2 separate regions of the Homo sapiens genome follow, and region 1 is linked to region 2. Evidence: promoter capture Hi-C in 16 types of primary human blood cells and fetal thymus (Javierre and others, 2016). All regions are on one chromosome and are shown on one strand. Each heading gives the region's core, a stretch centred on a gene start or on the middle of the fragment in contact. The rest is flanking DNA. Distances are from core to core; before and after follow the strand shown. Region 1 overlaps WWC3 (WWC family member 3). Region 2 holds the start of PNPLA4 (patatin like domain 4, phospholipase and triacylglycerol lipase).

Region 1 (4,153 bases), core at 842-3,341, 2.2 Mb before region 2:
CTGAGAGACCCTGGAGCAGAAGACCCAGCCCAGTCTCCTGGACCACATCAAGCATGAGATAATAAAGGAGTGTTGTTGTAAGAGGCTAGGTTTTGGGGAAATCTGTTATGCAGCAATGGTTAGCTAATACAGTCATAGCCTTTTGATCTATTTTTCTATAACATGATGTGGTTTCTTAGAAAGTACAGGGGTTTAGGGATGAGAAATGTTTCAAAACCAGACCTGCCTCTCCTCAGCTACAAGACCTTAGGTAACCTGGCATCTCGGTCTCCTGCACATCACACAGGATGGGAACAACTACTTAAACTGAGATAACAGCTATGAGATTGCTGACCTAGGGTCAGCCCCGGTAAACTTCAGGAGCTTATCAACAATGAGCAGTGACTGCTCAAGTAGCATAACCAGCCACCACTCCTCACCTGACATTTTTAGAAGGGTTGACCTAAATCACTGGAGAACCTTCTATCTTAACTGTTTCTCTCAAACTAAATTCTAATTCTAACCTTACAATAAGCAGCAATGAATTATTCACGAATTCAATGAGTCTTACACTTGTTTCCTTCTCTCGCTCCAAAATCTTTACGCAAAAATGCCAAACATTTTTGAATTACAGATTCTCCTCTGTGTGTTACAGATGGCGACCATATTCTTTCATCCAAAGAAGATGCCTAGTCAAAAACGGCCAAGTGTACGTTTGGAACAACGCAGGCAAATTTGAAAATAGGACTGTTCCAGGACACCCAAGACATAAAGGGCCGTGATTTCCTACATTATACTCCACTCGAAGAGGCACTAGTTGCTAAGATTTCAAAATATTAATTAGCTAATTATTTAAAACCCAGAGTTTTCCATCAATTGTTTTTTCCTCCTTTTGTTGCTTTCCTTTTATTTATTTAATTTCGGGGGAGGGGTGGCACTGTGCATTCCATTGATACCTCATCTTTACTTAATAATCCTTAAAAAAAAAAAAAGAAGCTCTTTAAACTGTTTTTCCATTTGGTAACAAATTAATGTCAAGCTTCACTCAATGATATTACAATACTAGCGTCTTTGAATATCCACCATCCTGCTTCAAATGGTGATTTTCCCAACTTTGTTTTTGTGGCTAACTCAAGGCTTCGCTAATTAACAAAGGAGGCATTATGACATTCTTCCAAGTCTCAAACAAAAATGACTTTTAGTTCAATTCAATTTCCTGACATTCTTTTAGAAGAGTAAGAAACAGCAATAAAGTAACACCCAAGGTGGCACAGCTATAAAGCCTTTGGAAATCAGTGGTCTAAGGCAGGAATCAGTAACTATGGCCCTGGGGCCAAATCCAGCCCACTGGCTGTTCCGTAAGTGAACGTTTGAGCAGCTCGAGGCCCCAGTCTTACATGCTTGCAAGGCATCTCTGTTATGGCTGCATGTACACTACAATGACAGGGTGGGGCAGTTCCAGCAGAACTACCTGCAAAGCCTAAAATAGTGACTATATTTACTATCTGGCCCTTCACAGAAAAAGCGTGGGGACTCATGCTCTAAAAAGTGATATGTCTGTCAAAAGAACAGTGAAACTCAACTCTCACAAGGAGTATGTCATTTATAAGAGTCCAAATCATAAGGGCAGCAGTAATAAGCAATTCAATTGTATCACACAGCTGGATGTGAGACACAACACTTTTTCTTCAAACTTAATGGCACAAAAGTGAAGGCATTTCTTAAGTGAACATGGAAAATTACACCAAACCAGTGATGGCAACACTGAAGCAGCCCTCCCCTCTCCCGGTGCATTTCTCCCCCTGGGCGCGCATATACCTCCCCGATGATATCAGTCTGGGAGCCGGCATCGCAGAACTGCTGGGGTACACCAGCATCGCCAGGCACGCCTACATGGTGAGGGAAGTCCACTAGAGAGTCGGTAACGGAGCAGCTGTTCTTGAAGCTATCGGTCAGCTTGGCCAGGCTCTGGAACACAATGAGACAAGCTCTTTGAACGGAGATGGTGATGTGTCTCTTCCCTCCAGAAGTGGTTCTCTCATTTGTTTTAGGTCTGCTGCATTATTTATTACTGAACAGTTGCCCCACCTCACCCCCATGCTCGTTAGATTTCACATAAATGCCCTTCATCACAGGCACCTCTAATAAAATTCTTAGTCATTTAAATCACATCGCAACTAAGTCCCCCTGGCAGCATGTGAATAAAATAGAGGACAATTATGGTACCATTTTTACTGGTTCTTAAACCTTCATGTTTCCTAAAGAAAAAAATAAGTATTTCTATCGAAAATGTAAATGAGCCTGACAGAGATGAATGCTGCCTTGAGATTGTTACAGAGGAAAAACAGGGAAGGGGAAAACAGCTCCCAGACAATGCTTACGTATTTCTTTTTCAGTTCTTTGAGTTGCTGTTTTAGCTTACGTATTTTTATAAACCTCATTTCTCAGTCATAATTCTACATGGTCAAAAGTAATCTCATATGTATGTTGGTTTGCCAAAAATTAGAGTTAGTATGCATTCTGGCACATGAAATCTCTCTGTGTGGCAGTTTTAAGCAGAAATCAGAATTCTGATTTTTTTTTTTTTTTTTTTTTTTTTTGAGAGAGGGTCTCACTCTATCACTCAGGCTGGAGTGCAGTGGCACAATCATAGCTCACCGTAGCCTCGACCTCCTTGGCTCAGGTGATCCTCCGACCTCAGCTTCCTGAGTACTTGGGACTACAGGTATGCCACCACACCCAGCTAAACTTTTGTTTGTTTGTTTGTTTTTGTAGAGACCAGGTCTCACTATGTTGCCTGGGCTTTTCTCAAAGTTCTGGGCTCAAGCTATCCTCCTGCCTCAGCCCCCCAAAGTGCTGAGATTATAAGCATGAGCCACTGCACCCAGCCAGAAATCAGATTTTTGACCATTTCTTTTAGACTTCTGAATATATTCACTTTCAGCAAATTTTACTACAGACACCAGAACCAAAAATGCCCAAGTGCAGTAGAACTCACAAAACTGGCTTGAGATTGAGATAAGGCCTTCTTGGGAGGGGCCAATATTGTTAAGTTCACATAAGAAAGGCAAAACAACTTATTTAACCTGGATAGAAGAGGACTCTGCCTGTGCCTCTTCCTGGAGCTTCTCAGAGTTTGAGAGGCTATGGAGACGTCAAAGAAGGTGCTCGAGCCTGAAGCTTCTTCCAGAAATTCTATCTGTTGCCTCCACGGTGGGAATTCAAGCAAGGCAAATGAGTGGCTGGCCCTGGTGCTGCACACGGTGGCCTCAGAGAGGCCGGGGCAGGCAGCCCTGCTTGGCCTCATGGCGTAAAGCCTCTGTGTCTCCACCATGGAACACCACATGGTTCAGCCTGCGGTATTGACGATGGGTAACAAACATGGGGCATCTTGTTTGATGTCAGCTGAGCAGAGACCTCAATAAATGGTAGCTGTTCTCAGTGCTACCTGTGTGCCAAAAAAAAAAAAAATCTAACAATTAACCATTTACTTATCACAACCTGGAGAGGTCATCTGAAAATAGATTCCTAGGCCCTACCTCCAGAGATTCTAATTCAGTGAGTCTAGGGTGGGGCCTGGTAATCTGCATCTTAACAAGCACCATGAGGACTCTCCGCAAGTCCCTCATGGCCTTGACCTTAGAAGGCACTACCCAGGCAGGGTAGTTTTTTTGTGCATCTGTCTCATTTTGCCTATGAGTTTGAGCTTTGCTTGTTCTGTCCTGTGGGTCTTATACTCTACAGAATCTAGACACATGCCAGCAGGCAGTAGGTGCTCACTTAGGGTAGCAGATGAAAAATAAAAGCTGTAACCAAAAGCACTGAATGCATTCCAGCACTTTACGTCATGAGGTCAAGCAGCGCTCCCCTGCCTTGGCCTCTCTGAGGCCACCATGTGCAGCACTAGGGCCAGCCACTCAGATGTCTTGCTTGAGTTTCCCACCATGGAGGCAGCTTTTTGCATTTGCAAAAGTTCAACTTTTTCTAAAAATAACAGAAACTACAAAAGCTCAAGGGGAAAAAAACATAAAGCAGTATAAAGCTACAATGATCCCAGCTATATATAATACAAATACACCCACATAGTAAAATACTATGCAACCATCTCAAGGAAAGAAGCAGCTCTTTGTGTACAGATATGGGGAAAGGTAGGGGATATTGCTGTTAAGTGAGG
Region 2 (4,210 bases), core at 972-3,471:
TGCTCTGGCTGAAGATGAACTCCTAGGTTCAAGCAATCCTCCCACCTCAGCTTCCTGAGTGGCTGAGACTACAGGCACATGCCACCTCACCCAGCTGAGAGCTGAACTTTTAACTAGTTACATGGAGATATGATACGGGATTGAAGGGAGTAAGGAGGAAATAAATTTAAAATTTTAAGAGTTAAATTATGGAGCATTTTGCTGCTCCAAAGAGACTTACCTTTGGTGAGCTCTCACTCTGCCAGCCAGGTGTAGAAATAGTGGATGCCCTTATCTTTCCTTTAAGTGAAAGATATCAAAGTTGTGGTGTTCATCCAGGCTGCCCGGTGATAAAGTTTTCACCTGTCTCCTGAATCGACCTGCTGACAGTGTCCAAATGCAGGAAATAACTTGCTCTGTAAACAGCATCCCAGATTCTGGTTCTGTAAATCCAGTCTCTCCTTAAACTTCTGATGCCACCACATCACTTTAAACCAGACCACCTGTCTTAATCCATTCAGGCTGCTATAATAAAGTAGCATTGACTGAGTGTTTATAAAAGAAATTTATTTCTCACAGTTCTGGAAGATGGAAGTCTGAGATCAAGGTGCCAAGATGGTCAGGTTCTGAGGAGGGCCCTTTTCCAGTTTGCAGATTGCCATCTTCTCCGTGTACTTTTATCCTTACATGGTGGAAAGAGACCTCTCTGGGGTCCCTTTTCTAAGAGTACTAATCCCATTCATGAGGGCTTCACCCTCATGACTTAATTACCTCCCAAAGGCCCCACCTCCTAATACTATCACCTTGGGGGTTAGTATTTCAATATGTGAATTTTGGAGGTATACATGCAAACAATAACACCACCAAAGGAGTTAGACCACTGCTTCAGGATTCTGTTAAAACGCAGATGCCGACTCAGATCAGAGATGGGACCTGGGATCCTTCCTTTCTCATGAGCTTCCTGGAAGATGCAGTTCTGGGGAGGATCACACTCGACCTTAAAGAGCTAGAAGATTGTGGAAGGTTTAAGGACTGGAGTGTGTCCTGTATTTTCCTAATGTACGTTGTGCCTTCCCTTCACTAAATTCCGGTAGAGGTAAAGAATTCTGAGTAATGCAGTCATTCTACGATAAGGCAATAAGGTGTTTCAGGATCAATTTTCTCTAAAGAATAGTTATGTGAATTAAAAACATCTTCCCTAATCGTCACATCAAGGACTCACAGGTGTTGTTGGCCAGAGACGATACACCAAAACAGAAAGAAAAAGCCCAAACCAGAGGCAATTTGGAGAGCTCCACCCCTCCTCCCTGTTTTGTCTAAGGTAGAGACATTCTCGCAGACGCTCCTTTGTAGCCTCAGAGAAAGTAAATCTCTGCCCTTAAACTAGGGGACCTGGAGAGCCTTCAATCACGAAGTCAGGGATTCCTCCAGGCTTGGTTATTAGGATTAGATAAGGAAAACACCGTTTGGGGAGAGAAAGAATTATCAGAGTCCTTTAAATCTTGGTGGGCATGGCAGGCATCTTGGCGGTCGTTGAAGCTGCTTAAGTCTGAGCCAAAGGTGCCAGAGGACAAAACAGCCACCTGCTCACGGCCCCCTATGTGGAAAAAGCTTTCCAATTTAGCTCTCTCATTTTAGCATCTCAATCTGCACATAAGGCACGCGGGAAACTCAGAGAGGTTATGCTACCTGCTCAAGGTCACACAGCCTAAGGTCAACTGAGGATATGAAAGTTCCCCAGAGTCATAGTCCAGCTTTTCCTTTAGATAGCACTTCTTAAAAAAACCAAAGGCACGCCTTGAAAAGCTGCGGGATGTCCAGCCCCAAAATAGCCGCTGGAGTTGGCCCCTAGGGGCAGCTGGACCGCCCAGGCGGGCGAAAGGGTGGAGAGGGAGAAGAACCACTTCCGGGAAACAGACGCGAAGAGGGTAAGGCACTTCCGGGGCACAGAAAATGAGGATTATTAAAGGTCAGTTGCTCGCAGGTAAGGGCCAAGTAGCGTTAAAAGACACGTAAGGATTACAACGCCTCTCTAGGGTGTGGGTTAAAATGTCTCTCTAGGTACTCGAAGATAACATGACTCTAAACGAGGAATCCTTGCCTGCGCTGGAGGACGCTCCGGTCTAGCGGCCAGGTTGAGTCCAGAAGTTTAAATAGAGCAGGCGGGGCCTAGCGGGCGCCTTCGTCGGCGCGATGACGTCACATACCTGCGCGGGAGGCGGTACCAACCCCTGCCGCAGGACTTTCCTGGGCCGGCTCGCGGAGAGCGTAGCGCGGCCTTGGTGGCGGAATGGCGTTGAGTGACGGCCCGGCCCCGCCATCTGGTTAAAGGGACTCGTTCAACACGGAAGTGTCCCGGGGCTGCATTGGTACGGAGCCCTGGGGCCCAGCAAGGGTGTGCTCCTGCGGGACTGATGCGGGGACCACCCCGGCCCTGCCGGCCTCCAAGCCGCGGGAGGGCACTGAGCCTGTGCTGGCTGGGCCTGGCCGCCTGGTTGCTACACACCCAACCCCCTTCCCGTCCCCATTTGCAGAAGTGGAATCAAAACTGGGGCTTGACCCCGGATCGATGACTGGGACTCAGCCTACGCGGACGCCAGCGCAGCCTGCGGCGGCCGAGCCACCTGCCCTCACAGGGCCTGGCCGGGTGCATCAGGAACAGGCGGTCTTAGGTCCCTAAATTCGAGGCCCTGTAATGTGCCTCATCTTGGGGTCCCTGAATGGGGCCCTTGGGCCCCCAAGGAAACCCTGAGACCTTCAGAATGGACAGCCTTGTGGAGGCACAATTTCATTCACTTGGGCAAATTGTGCGCACTGAGGCATAGGAAAACATGTAATTTTGTATTTAGATGTGTTCCAAGTATAAAGTGGCGTGGCTGACATTTCATAGAGCCTTAAATTGCCTTCACCAGGCATGACCTCAGTTTGTGTTGAGATACTTGGCAAAGAAATGTATTGCATTGTTGAGTGATTGCTTATTGCGTTACTGAGTAATTGTATTGGCGTTCATAAAAGCATGGGTGCTCACAATAGAAATTGGGAAGGGGAGTAGGGAACTGTATTTGAAATCTTCTGATACACTTACCAAGAACAAATGTATTGTTCATTTGGAATTTGATACGGTCTCTAATAATTTTCTGTTTCATAATGGTAGTGCCGCCCCCACCCGCAAAACGTTTCAAAGGGTCAAGAGAAAAGACCAAATGCCCTTGTCAACTGGAATTTATACGTCTGTTTCCTGCCAAGTAATTAAATCGTAGATTCATAATCTATGTACCGAATAAATGTGGAATGTTTTTGTTTTGTTTTGTTTTAATGTATAAGACTTGGGTCAAGGTGAGGAGGGAAAGAAAGGGTTTCCTTGAAAGATTCTTGTGTTTAATTAGAATTAATTGAAACCACTGTGCTTAAAACAGAGAATGATGTTAGAAGAAAGCCTTGGAACGATGATCAACATAAGACTACACAGTATGTGGGATAAACTATTCCAACTTACAGCATTTTTGTTTTTTGTATTGCCAGTGCTACAGCTAGAATGAAGCACATCAACCTATCATTTGCAGCGTGTGGATTTCTGGGCATTTACCACTTGGGGGCAGCATCTGCACTTTGCAGACATGGCAAAAAACTTGTGAAGGATGTCAAAGCCTTCGCTGGGGCGTCTGCGGGATCGTTGGTTGCTTCTGTTCTGCTAACAGCACCAGAAAAAATAGAGGTAATTAAGTAGTAACTTAGGCTGTGTTCCTCATCAAGAAATTAAGACCCAAAGGCAAACACCAGCATTGACTCTACTAAGTTAACACTGCAGAGAAATAATCGTTTGCTTGGAAACAGAAAGGATTAGGACTTTTCTCTTAAGATGTAATTATTAGGGATCTGTGCTCTGGTTGTGGAAAAGATTATTTTGGGTGATAGTGAAATAAGGAAATAAAATGACTTATATTACTCTTGAGTTTTTATTTATCCTTAAGATTCCAGCTCTGTTCCTTTCAAGCAAAGGATATTTCTTCTTTCTATGATCATGAGAAGAGCATGGGGCCTGTTTTCAAGGCCTTGAACATGTGGGCAACAAGTCTTACCTCACTGCTACTTAGAAATAGATACATAAATTAAAATGTGGGCATGCAGTTTCTATTAAGTGGAATGGTATAGGAATTTAATTCTTTTTTAATTCTCACAGTAAGAGGAAGCTCTGAGTTCCAAGCAATTTATCCAGAAGTAATACAAATAA

What was found. Contacts are between HindIII fragments. The CHiCAGO score rates a contact against its expected background, and 5 or more counts as called.
Region 1: a fragment that was not itself captured here is called in contact with the fragment with the promoter of PNPLA4 in region 2 in 1 of 17 cell types (total CD8 T cells); the score reaches 5.2 in total CD8 T cells.

What each region holds. Positions count from the first base shown.
Region 1 is chrX:10,091,926-10,096,078 of GRCh38, reverse strand. WWC3 (WWC family member 3) reads right to left here. Exons shown (of 24, transcript NM_015691.5): 8 at 1,798-1,947. Among named protein-coding and RNA genes, the nearest start is that of CLCN4, 63 kb to the left of the region's middle. The HindIII fragment of the contact is 2,141 bases long and covers 1,021-3,161 here.
Region 2 is chrX:7,925,424-7,929,633 of GRCh38, reverse strand. PNPLA4 (patatin like domain 4, phospholipase and triacylglycerol lipase) reads left to right here and starts at 2,221. Exons shown (of 7, transcript NM_004650.3): 1 at 2,221-2,348; 2 at 3,502-3,694. The coding sequence starts at 3,515. It overlaps LOC107985675 (a long non-coding RNA gene), which reads right to left and starts at 2,134. Exons shown (of 5, transcript XR_001755784.2): 1 at 221-2,134. RefSeq lists enhancers at 1,614-1,693, 2,034-2,083, 2,104-2,343, 2,574-2,803, 3,466-3,515 and a silencer at 3,492-3,786. The HindIII fragment of the contact is 3,086 bases long and covers 1,593-4,210 here.